Regions from separate parts of the Homo sapiens genome. Here region 1 is linked to region 2. Evidence: promoter capture Hi-C in human tissues and cell types (Jung and others, 2019). All regions are on one chromosome and are shown on one strand. The core of a region is centred on a gene start or on the middle of the fragment in contact, and the rest is flanking DNA. Distances in the headings are between cores, read along the strand shown. Region 1 overlaps IP6K1 (inositol hexakisphosphate kinase 1). Region 2 holds the start of RBM5 (RNA binding motif protein 5).

The links. Contacts are between HindIII fragments. The study calls those that stand out against the background at their distance.
Region 1: a fragment that was not itself captured here is called in contact with the fragment with the promoter of RBM5 in region 2 in 2 of the 25 tissues and cell types used here (pancreas and spleen).

Annotation. Positions count from the first base shown.
Region 1 is chr3:49,766,239-49,772,798 of GRCh38, forward strand. The region is part of intron 1 of IP6K1 (inositol hexakisphosphate kinase 1); the gene reads right to left. Among named protein-coding and RNA genes, the nearest start is that of IP6K1, 17 kb to the right of the region's middle. The HindIII fragment of the contact is 9,567 bases long and covers 1-6,560 here.
Region 2 is chr3:50,084,481-50,090,760 of GRCh38, forward strand. It overlaps RBM5 (RNA binding motif protein 5), which reads left to right and starts at 4,439. Exons shown (of 25, transcript NM_005778.4): 1 at 4,439-4,549; 2 at 5,902-5,971. The coding sequence starts at 5,955. RefSeq lists enhancers at 4,296-4,887, 4,407-4,576, 4,617-4,726, 4,888-5,478. The HindIII fragment of the contact is 21,518 bases long and covers 1-6,280 here.

The sequences.
Region 1 (6,560 bases), core at 1,098-3,597, 320 kb before region 2:
CCTGTAGTCCCAGCATCTCGGGAGTCTGGCTGAGGTGGGAGAATCACTTGAGCCCAAGAGATCAAGTCTGCAGTGAGCCAAGATCGCGCCACTGCACTCCAGCCTGGGTGACAAGAGCGAAACTCTGTCTAAAAAAAAAGAAACGCCAGGCGCTGTGGCTCACAACTGTAATCCCAGCACTTTGGGAGGCCAAGGCAGGTGGCTCACTTGAGGTCAGGAGTTCGAGACCAGCCTGGCCAACCTGGTGAAACTCTGTCTCTACTAAAAATTAAAACATCAGTTGGGTGTGGTGGTGGGCACCTGTAATCCCAGCTACTCAGGAGGCTGAGGCAGGAGAATCACTTGAACCCGGGACGCAGAGGTTGCAGTGAGCCAAGATCGTGCCATTGCACTCCAGCCTGGGTGACAGAACGAGACCTCATCTTAAAAAAAAAAAAGAAAGAAATCAGCCAGGTACAGTGGCTCACACCTGTAATCCCAGCACTTTGGGAGGCTGAGGCGAGCAGATCACTAGGTCAGGAGTTTGAGACCAGCCTGACCAACATGGCAAAACCCCGTCTCTACTAAAAATACAAAAATTAGCGGGCATGGTGGTGGGCATCTGTAATCCCAGCTACTCGGAAGGCTAAGGCAGGAGAATCACTTGAACCCTGGAGGCAGAGGTTGCAGCGAGCGTGCCACTGCACTCCAGCCGGGGTGACAAGAGCAAGACTCCGTCTCAAAAAAAAAAAAAAAAAAAAAAAAAAAAAGAAAGAAATCCAAGGGCCTGAAATCCTACAGTTTTGGGAAGCCATGGCAGGAGGATTGCTTAAGCTCAGTTTGAGACCAGCCTGGGCAACTTAACAAGATCCCATCTCCACAAAATTTTTTTTTTTATTTTTAAAAAATCAGCTGAGTTGCACTGGCTCATACCAGTAGTCTCGGCTACTTGGAAGGCTGAGGCAGGCAGGCAGTCACTCAAGCCCAGGAGTTTGAGGCTGCAGTGAGCTACATTCATATCACTCATTCCAGCCTGGGTGACAGGATGAGACCCTATCTCTTAAAAAATAATAATAATTGGCCAGGCGCGGTGGCTCACGCCTGTAATCCCAACACTTTGGGAGGCCGAGGTGGGCAGATCACCTGAGGTCAGGGGTTCAAGACAAGCCTGGCTAACATGGTGAAACCCCATCTCTACTAAAAATACAAAAAAGTAGCCAGTTGTGGTGGCACGTGCCTGTAATCCCAGGTACTCGGGGGGCTAAAACAGGAGAATCACTTGAACCGGGAGGCGGAAACTGTGGTGAGCAGAGATCACGCCACTGCACTCCAGGCTAGGTGACAGAGTGAGACTCCATCTCAAAAAATAATAATAATAATAACAACAACTTAAAAAAATAAAATTAGTCTGGGTACAGTGGCTCATACCTGTAATCTCAACACTTTGGGAGGCTGATGCAGGTGGATCACTTAAGCCCAAGAGTTTGAGACCACCCTGAGCAATATAGTGAGATCCCATCTCTATTCTAAAAAACCGATTAATTAATTTAAAAAGAGTGAAAACATCACCCACAGAATAGCAGAAAATATCTGCAGATCATACATCTGATAAAGGATTAATACATGGAACATATAAAGTACTTGTATAACTCGACAACAACAAAAATAACCCAATTCATAAATGGGCAAAGGCCTTAGACATTTCTCTGAAGATTTACAAATGGCCAAAAAATATGCAAAAAGATGCTCAACTTCATTAGTCATTAGGGAAATGCAAATCAAAGCCACAATGAGAAACTACTTCACATCCAAGTTATAAAAAAAAAAAAAAAATAGAAAATAAGTGTTGGCAAGGATATGAAGAAATTGTAACACTTGTGCACTGCTGGTGAGAATGTAAAGAAGACAGTATGGCAATTCCTCAAAAAGTTAAACATAGAATTACCATATGATTCAACAATTCCACTTTTAGGTCTATACCCAAAAGAACTGAAAGGAGGAATCCAAAACAGATATTTATACACCAATGTTCACAGCATTATTCACAATAACCAAATGGTGTCTACGACCCATGTCCATCAACAGATAAATGGATAAAGATATGCGGTATATACATACAGTGAAATATTATTCAGCCTTAAAAAGGAATGAAATTCTGATGCATGTCACAACATGGATGAATCTTGAAAACATTTTGCTAAGTGAAATAAGCCAGGCACAAAAGGGAAAAAATTATATAATTATAATTCCACTTACATAAAATAAAACAGGGCTGGGCACAGTTGCTTAAGCCTGTAATTCCAGCATTTTGGGAGGCTGAGGCAGGTGGATCACTTGAGGTCAGGAGTTCGAGATCAACCTGGCCAACATGGTGAAACCCCATCTTTACCAAAAATACAAAAATTAGCCGGCCGTGGTGGCGGGCACCTGTAATCCCAGCTACTTGAGAGGCTGAGGCAGGAGAATCACTTAAACCTGGGAGGCGGAGGCTGCAGTGAGCCAAGACTGGGCCACTGCACTCCAGCCTCGGTGACAGAGTGAGACTGAGTCTCAAAAATAAAATAAAATAAAATAGGCGAATTCATTGAGACAAAAAGATTATTAAGAACGTACAAGGGGCTGGGGGAGGTGAGAATGGGGTGTTACTATATAATGGGGAGAGTTCCTATTTGGGATGATGAAAGTAGTTCTCAAAACATCATTGTGAATGTATTTAATGCCACTGCATCATACCCTTCAAAATAGTTAAAATTCTACATTTTCTCATGTATATTTACTACAATTTAAAAATTTCATTTACAATAGCATCAAAAAAATCAAATGTCTTGGGTCAAATTTAACAAAACGTGAAAGAATTCTACATTAAAAACAATGAAATAATGTAGCAAGATAGTAAAGAAGGCATAAATCAAGAAATATGCCTCACACAGCACATGGATTAGAAGGCTCAATATAGTTAAGATGTCAATTCTCCCCAAATGAATCTATAAATTCAGTGGAATCTCAACCATAATGGCAGGAGACTTTTTTACAGAAATTGACAAGCTAATTCTAAAATTTATATGGTAATAAAAAGAAACTGTAATATTCAAATAAATCTTGATAAACAATAAAGTTGGGTTATTTACACTGCCTCATGTCAAGACTTCCTATAAAGCTACAGTAGTGGGGTACTGGCATATGGATAAACAAATAGATCAATGGAACAGAACACAGATTTCACAAACAGGCCCATATCTACAGAGTCAATTGTTTTTGGGATTTTTGCCAGCGACAAATCAGGATATAACAGTCAATTGTTTTTCGACAAAAGTACCAAAGCAAACCAATGGGGAGAGAAAATTTTGGTAGTTTTAAACTATGTCAAATTTTTTTACATTCTTCCCTCTAAAAAGTGAAATCCTCCTCTCTCCTTGAGTACAGGCTAGACTTAGGGACTCATTCTAATGAAAAGAATATGGCAGAAGTGACAGTGTATGACTAGGTCATAAGAGGCTTCATGGTTTCTTCCTTACTTTGTCTTAGATCATTTCTGTAGGAGATAACTGCACGCCATGAGGAAACTCAAAGAGCCCTGTGTATAACTTGTTAGCTTTAAAGTAGGGAAAATTTAAAAACAAACAAACAAAAGCCCTGGGTAGAGATAAACAATATGGAACTGAGGCTTCCTGCAAAGAGCTTTATGAATAAGTCATCTTGAAAACAGATCCTCTAAGCCAAGCATGGTGGCTCAGGCCTATAATCCCAACACTTTGGGAGGCCAACAGGGAAAGATCACTTGAGCCCAGGAGTTCAAAACCAGCCTGGGCAACATCTCTACAAAACATAGAAAAAACTAGCCCTGCATGGTGGTGCATGCCTGTAGTTCCAGCTTGAGAGGCTGAGTTGGGAGGATCACTCAAGCCCAGGAGGCCAGGGCTGCAGTAAGCTGTGATCACCACTTCACTCTAGCCTGGGCCACTTCTGAATTCCTAGCCCTCAGAAACTGAGGTAATAACTGTTTGCTGTTTTAAACTGCTAAGTTTTGGAATAATTTGTTACAGAGCAATAGATAATACACAAGTCTTTTCAACAAATGTTGCTAGTAATGGAACAATCAGTTATCTATGTGGGGGAAAAAGAAACACCAGCCCCAATCTCACACAATAACAAAAATTAACTTAGGATGACTCAGAGACCAAAATGTAAAAGCTAAAACTAGAAAGCTTGTAGGTGAAAACACAAAAAATAAAGTTAGGCTGGGCATGGTGGCTCATACCTATAATACCAGCACTTTGGGAGGCCAAGGTGTGCAGAGCTCACCTGTAGTCTTAGCTACGCGGGAGGCTGAAGTGGGAGAATGGCTTGAGCCCAGGAAGTGGAGGGTGTAGTGAGCGGAGATCATGCCACTGCACTCCAGCCTGGGTGACAGAACCAGACCCTGTCTCAAAAAAAATAAAGTTATATGATTTACACTACCTGACTTCAAGCCTTGCTAGAAATGTCCAACACTTAAGAGGTAGGCAAGGTGTCCTCAGACACTCAGACAGAACACAGAAAGCAATAACCATAACAGAAATTATTGATAAATCGGACTTCATCAAAATTGAAAACCTCTGATTATTTATTTATGAGATGGAGTCTTGATCACACCCGTATTCCTAGCATCTTGTGAGGCCCAGGCAAGAGGAATGCTTGAGGTCAGGAGTTCAGGATCAGCCTGGGCAAATATGCTGAGACCTCCGTTGCTACAAAAAATTTTTAAAAAGAAAATAAGCTGGGCATGGTAGTATGCACATGTAGTCCTAGCTACTAGGGAGGCTGAGGCAGGAGGGTCGTTTAAGCCCAGGAGTTAGAGGGTACACTAAGTTATGATCACGCTACTACACTCCAGCCTGGGCAACAGAGCAAGACCCTGTCTCTAAAAAAACAAAACAAAAAACAAAAAATATAGTATCCAGAATACAAAAAAACTTCCTAAAACTCAGTAACAAAAAAAAAAAAAAAAAAAAAAAACCCTGCCAGGCACAGTGGTGAACACCTATAGTCCCAGCTACTTGAGAGGATGAGGCAGAAGGATCCTTTGAGCCCAGAAGTTCAAGTCCAGCTTGGGCAACATAGGGAGGCCCTATCTCTAAAAGATACATTTCTTTAAAAAATAAAAAAGCCAATTTTAAAAAAAAATGGGCAACAGATTTGAATACATACTTCACAAACGAAGATACACAAAGACCATTAAGTACAGGAAAAGGTGCTCAATATCATTAGCATTCAGGTAAGTGAAAATTAAAACCACAATGAGTTACCACTATACTTTCACCCAAATGGCTAAAATTAAAAACACACTACAACACACTTAATGTTGCTAAATGTGGAACAACCACAACTCTCATACATTACTGGTGAGAGTGTAAAAATGGTACAACCATTTTGGAAAAGGTATTATAGTTTCCTATAAAGCTAAACATACATCTATCCTATGACCCAGCAATTCTAGTCTCTTCAAGAGAAATGAATGTGTATGTCCACACAAAAAACCTTTGCAAAAAAGTTCATAAAAGCTTTACTCATAAGGCAAACACTGGAAACAGCCCAAATATCTATCAACAGAATAAACAAACTGTAGTGTTAATGCAATGAAATACTATATAGCAATAAAAATAAACTACTGATACAGACAACAGCATGTATAAATTAAAACACTACACTGTGTGAAAGAAACCTTACTCAAGAGTGGCCAGGCGTGGTGGCTCACACCTGTAATCCCAACACTTTGCGAGGCCAAAGAGGGAGGATCGCTTGAGCCCAAGAGTTTGAGACCAACCTGGGCAACATGGCAAGACCTCTACAGAAAATTTTTTTAATTAGCTGGGTGCAGCAGTGCACACCTGTAGTCCCAGCTACTTGGGAAGCTGAGGTGGGAAGATCCCTTGAGCCCAAGGTGGGTTCAAGGTGGCAGTGAGCTATAATTGCACCACTGTACTCCAGCCTGGGTGACAAAACAAGACCCTTTCCCTTAAAAAAAAAAATATATATATATATATATGTGTGTGTGTGTGTAACACATATATATGTAATATATATGTTATATAGTCTTCCTTTTTAACTTAATATATTTTATATATATAATATATAGGAAGACTATATAATATATAAAATATATATATATAGAAGGCTATATATACATATATTGTCTTCTTATATTCTAGAGCGTTCTCTTTTTTGAGACAGGGTCTTACTCTGTTACCCAGGCTAAAGTGCAGTGGCACGATCATGATTCACTGCAGCCTCCATCTCCTGGTCTCAAGCAATCCTCCCATCTCAGCCTCTCTAGTAGCTGGGACTATAGGCACATGCTGCCACACCCAGCTAATTTTTTTATTTTTTGTAGAGACAAGGTTTCACCATGTTGCCCAGGCTGGTCTCAAACTCCTGGACTCAAGTGATCCTTCCATCTCAGCCTCCCAAAGTGCTGGGATTACAGGCATGAGCCACCACACCCAGCCTCTCTCTACTTCTGACTAGCCAATTTCTCATTACTCCAGTCTCTGTTACAGTTAATAATTCTTTTTTTTTTTTACATAGAGACAGGGTCTCACTAC
Region 2 (6,280 bases), core at 3,189-5,688:
ACAGGGGCGGCTGGCCGGGCAGAGGAGCTCCTCACTTCCCAGTAGGGGCGGCCGGGCAGAGGCGCCCCTCACCTCCCGGACCGGGCGGCTGGCCGGGCGGGGGGCTGACCCCCCCCACCTCCCTCCCGGACGGGGCGGCTGGCCGGGCAGAGGGGCTCCTCACTTCCCAGTAGGGGCGGCCGGGCAGAGGCGCCCCTCACCTCCCGGACGGGGCGGCTGGCCGGGCGGGGGGCTGACCCCCCCACCTCCCTCCCGGACGGGGCGGCTGGCCGGGCGGGGGGCTGACCCCCCCACCTCCCTCCCGGACGGGGCGGCTGGCCGGGCGGGGGGCTGACCCCCCCACCTCCCTCCCGGAGGGAGCGGCTGGCCGGGCAGAGAGGCTCCTCACTTCCCAGTAGGGGCGGCCGGGCAGAGGCGCCCCTCATCTGCCGGACGGGGCGGCTGGCCGGGCGGGGGGCTGACCCCCCCACCTCCCTCCCGGACGGGGCGGCTGGCCGGGCGGGGGGCTGAACCCCCCACCTCCCTCCCGGACGAGGTGGCTGCCGGGAGGAGACGCTCCTCACTTCCCAGACGGGGTGGCTGCTGGGCGGAGGGGCTCCTCACTTCTCAGACGGGGCGGCTGCCTGGCGGAGGGGCTCCTCACTTCTCAGACGGGGCGGTTGCCAGGCAGAGGGTCTCCTCACTTCTCAGACGGGGCGGCCGGGCAGAGACGCTCCTCACATCCCGGACGGGCGGCAGGGCAGAGGTGCTCCCCACATCTCAGACGATGGGCGGCCGGGCAGAGACGCTCCTCACTTCCCAGATGTGATGGCGGCCGGGAAGAGGCGCTCCTCACTTCCTAGATGGGATGGCGGCCGGGCAGAGACGCTCCTCACTTTCCAGACTGGGCAGCCAGGCAGAGGGGCTCCTCACATCCCAGACGATGGGCGGCCAGGCGGAGACGCTCCTCACTTCCCAGACGGGGTGGCGGCCGGGCAGAGGCTGCAATCTCGGCACTTTGGGAGGCCAAGGCAGGCTGCTGGGAGGTGGAGGTTGTAGCGAGCCGAGATCATGCCACTGCACTCCAGCCTGGGCACCATTGAGCACTGAGTGAACGAGACTCCGTCTGCAATCCCGGCACCTCGGGAGGCCGAGGCTGGCGGATCACTCACGGTTAGGAGCTGGAGACCAGCCCGGCCAACACAGCGAATCCCCGTCTCCACCAAAAAAATACGAAAACCAGTCAGGCGTGGCGGTGCGCACCTGCAATCGCAGGCACTCGGCAAGCTGAGGCAGGAGAATCAGGCAGGGAGGTTGCAGTGAGCCGAGATGGCAGCAGTACTGTCCAGCTTCGGCTCGGCATCAGAGGGAGACCGTGGAAAGAGAGAGAGAGGGAGACCGTGGGGAGAGGGAGAGGGAGAGGGCTAGAAAAGACAATCTTAAAGGACTATCCCTTATTGAACATATGTGGCTTTATTTAAAACAAAGAGCAACTCACTCTGATGTCTTTCTTTTTCTTACATCAGCTACCAGACAGGCCTTTGGCAGCAGAGCTCTGGAGCTCAACAGGCCAATGTCTAAAAGAAGATCAGCTACCAGAGATAATTTGGAGGATGGCACTTACCTATGGATGAAATCCATCTTTTTTTGCCAGGGACCTCTTCAAGTTTAAGAATTATTTTGCAGGCTGGGCATGGTGGCTCACGCTTGTAATCCCAGCACTTTGGGAGGTTGAGGCAGGAGGATCGCTTGAACTCAGGAGTTCGAGACCAGCCAGGGCAACATGGTGAAACTCCATCTCTACCCCAAAAATACAAAAAATTAGTTGGGCATGGTGGTGCACACCTGTGGTCTCAGCTACTCAGGAGGCTGAGGTGGGAGGATCTCTTGACCTGGATAGGTCGAGGTTGCAATGAACCGAGATCATGACATTGCACTCCAACCTGGGTGACAGAGTAAGACCCCGTCTCAAAAAAAAAAAAGATTATTTTGAGGTTTGTGAATAGCTATATAGCTTTTATGACTGGTGGTAAGCCCAGCTCAGCAAGCACCTCAGGAATATCCAAAGGTGCTTGTTGAACTGCTTTGGGGACAAGGCAGGCAACGGCTAGTGGCTATGAAGTCTAGTGAGTTCTAGATTCTTGGCATCTGCATCATCCATTGTAGGGTTTGCAGTGATGTCATCAATGTTAACTTTTAAATTTCATTAATGCATGTACTCTTTTCTGATATTTTGCATATATGCTTCCCCATAAATTGTATATATTTCCTCTCTAAATACACACACACCACATATATTATATTTCTACCTTTTCGTCTATATATGTATTGTGTATATACCTATATATAGATATATACACTGACATCCCTCCACTTATTCTTGAAAGATTTGTTTTCCAGAGAGAGAAGAAAATGGTATAGGCACAGTTTTCTGTAACTGATGTATAACTTTCTGTAACTAATGGTATAGGCACAGTTTTCAATTTGTATGACCTGAAAAATCAGTTCTGGCTGGGTGCGGTGGCTCATGCCTGTAATCCTAGCACTTTGGGAGGCTGAGGCAGGTGGATCACCTGAGGTCAGGAGTTCGAAACCAGCCTGGTCAACATGGTGAAACCCCATCTCTACTAAAAATACAAAAATTAGCTGGGTGTGGTGGCGGGTGCCTGTAATCCCAGCTGTTTGGGAGGCTGAGGCAGGAGAATCACTTGAACCTGGGAGGCAGAGTTTGCAGTGAGTTGAAACTGTGCCATTGCACTCCAGCCTGGGCAACAGGAGCAAAACTCCATCTCAAACAAACAAACAAACAAAAATGTTTGCAAAGCATCTAGGGCAATAATATAGCATCTAGTAAAGCGATCAACTAATGTTCCTCATTTTAATTTATTTTTTATTTTTATTTTTTTTTGAGATAGAGTCTTGCTGTGTTGCACAAGCTGGAGTGCGGTAGAGCAATCTCGGCTCACTGCAACCTCCGCCTCTTGGGTTCAAGCGATTCTCCTACCTCAGCCTCCCAAGTAGCTGGGATTATAGGTGTGCGCCACCACACCCAGCTAATTTTTGTATTTTTAGTAGAGACGGGGTTTAGCCATGTTGGCCAGGCTGGTCTCGAACTCCTGAGCTCAGCTGATCCACCTGCCTCGGCCTCCCACAGTGCTTGGATTACAGGCATGAGCCATCATGCCTGGCCCCTCCTTTTTATTTATTTATTTATTATTATTATTATTATTATTATTATTATTATTATTATTATTATTTTGAGACTGAGTCTTGCTCTGTCACCCAGGCTGGAGTGCAGTGGCACGATCTCAGCTCACTGCAACCTCTGCCTCCCTGGTTCAAGTGATTCTCCTGCCTCAGCCTCCCTAGTAGCTGGAACTACAGGTGCATGCCACCATGCCCGGCTAATTTTTGTATTTTTAGTAGAGACGCGGTTTCACCATATTGGTCAGGCTGGTCTTGAGCTCCTGACCTCGTGATCCACTTGCCTCGGCCTCCCAAAGTGCTGGGATTACAGGCGTGAGCCACTGCGTCCAGCCTTTTTTTTTTTTTTTTTTGAAACAGAGTCTCACTCTGTTGCCCAGGCTGGAGTGCAGTGGCGCAATCTCGGCTCACTGCAAGCTCCGCCTCCCGGGTTCACACCATTCTCCTGCCTCAGCCGCCCAAGTAGCTGGGACTACAGGCGCCCGCCACCATGCCCAGCTAATTTTTTTGTATTTTTAGTAGAGACGGGATTTCACCGTGTTAGCCAGGATGGTCTCGATCTCCTGACCTTGTGATCCGCCCGCCTTGGCCTCCCAAAGTGCTGGGATTACAGGAGTGAGCCACCGCGCCCAGCACCGGCCTCCTTTTTATTTTTTAGCGACAGTTTCTCGCATTGTCCCCAGGCTGGAGTGCTGTGACGAGATCACAGCTCACTGCAGCCTCGACCTCTTGGGCCCAAGCGAACCTCTCACCTCAGCTCCTGAGTAGCTGGGACAAGAGGTGCACGCCACCATGCTCAGTTAATTTTATTTTTTGTAGAGATAGGATCTCACTGTGTTTCCCAGGCTGGTCTCGAACTCCTGGCCTCAAGCGATCCTCCTGCCTCGGCCTCCCAAAATGCTGGCTTGTGAGTGAGCCACCACTTCACGCACGGTCTCCTTTTGAAGTAGAATTAGACAATGTTTTACACCGTGCCAGTGAAAGCAAACTGTACTCTCTACGGCGCTAGTAGCAAAAGCAAAGAATTATTAACATGCCTAATAGGAGCCCTAAAAACTAATCCAGGTCTGCAAAAGCCGATCGACAACTCTGTAGTGATTTAGAAGAGAATTGCAAGACATTAACACAGAGCGTCCTAAGTGACAGGATGGTCTGGCGACCACATTTCCCGGCAGCCCTCGCACAGCCAGGCCGCTTCGAGGATTGGACTTCTCCGCAGGAGGCGGGTGACAGGGGGAGGGGATAAGCGTGAGGTACTGTGGGTAGGAGACGGCCGTCGGCGGAGGCGCCATTTTGTGTAGCCGCCGAACCTTGTTGGAGGTTCTGGGGCGCAGAACCGCTACTGCTGCTTCGGTCTCTCCTTGGGGTAAGTGCGGCGGCTGTCTGTAACGACGGTAGGTTCTTGCCATTTGGGCTGGCCCCCAAGCCTCCCTTGTCAGCTGCCGGAGGCGACTGATCAGCTCCAGCCGGTTCTGTAGAGGGGCTAAATTACCCCAGGCGTTGGAGGGCCGCGCCCTTCCTTGTTGCCAGCTCTGTCAGTTTCCAGAGGGTGTCCAGCCAGCTCAGCCTTGGGCCTGCTTCTTTCTGGCTGTGACTTTGCCCCTTGTGGATACACGTCCCCTAATCTTCAGCCCAACGGAGCAGTGGAGCCGTCGCCTGTCCCTCGGGCACTCCTTGGGAGCTCCCTGGCAGTCTCTGGCCGCCATCCCCCGCTCAACTGCAACTGAATCGCCCTCTCCGAAAAGCTGTTCGGTGATCGCCCATCTGCGGGTTTGGAACCTCTTGGGAGGCGGGAGGGGCATGTGCGGGGAGGGCAGGCCGGACGCTGGAGTCGGTCGAGCAGGCCGTGACGCCGCCATCTCGGCCGCGAGACCCCACGGAGGTGGGTGCCGGCACCGCCCGGGAGACAAGGGGCGGCACCAGTGAATATGCCCCGGGACTTGTTTCCCCCCAGTGGTTCTTTTTCATTTATTAATTTCAACAAATCGTTGAGCATTCGCTCTAGACTAGGCTTCCAGAGACTACTGGAACTGATTTTTCGGACCTCGCGCTCATCGAACGCGGTCCAGCAGTGTGATGTCTTATTACCAACGGGGGGCGGGGGGCCGGGCTGTTCACTACTCAGTGGTTTGTAGTCATAAGAACTGGCTCAAGACGTGGTGGTTATTGTTACCTAGGAATTAGGTCGTTTCTAGCTTTGCTCTTGTCTTATGCGATACGTTATTAATGTAGTAGATTTCAGTCAGCTCAGTATCCCAGCTTCTACGAGGTTTTACATTTTTCATCAGAAGTGTTTGAATTTCATGTTGCTCCTTGTATTAATGAAGACACTTGGATTAATGTTTTAACGGTCAACTATCCCACGGAGTTGCTTTGATACAAAACCAAGGAGCTGATTGTAGCTCTGCCCTTTTTGCTTTGTAATTCTAAGGTAGGAGCAGGGAAGGAGTCTTCTGCTTGCTCCGTATTATGATTCTGTTAAATCTGGAATCTAATATTTTAAAATATGCTTAATCTTCCGGTTTTGCTCATTGTTAACAAAATGTTAGCACGATTTTAACGTTGACAGTTTGTCCCCACCACTTCCCCACCTTAGATAATCACTGTCAATGATTTGAAGGTTTGATGAAATCCCAGCCTCAGTAGTATCCAAGCTATGGAGCTGCTGACTTAAGTGATCTCTGAGATTTATAGCAATTAATCTCTCTTGTCTCCTAGAAAAAATAAAATTTGAACCTTTTGGAGCTGTGTGCTAAATCTTCAGTGGGACAATGGGTTCAGACAAAAGGTAAGTTACTACAGTACGTGGCTTTGATCTCAACATTTCAGTGGGGACTGAACTCCTTGTTTAAAATAGTTTATCAAACTAATATATGAGTGTTTTGCGCCAGGCATTGCTAACGAACACCTTTATGATCCTGTTGTCACAAACTACAGTCTAGTGAGAGAATTAAAGTACTGTGTGAACATGCTGTGATAAAGTGTAGGGTGCTCTTAGAACACATAGGAAGTATGTCTTTTTCTTGTTCACAGCCAGGAAAGCTTCCTGGAGAAAATATTCTCTGGAAGGAAGCTGAAGGATAAGAAAGAATTTTAG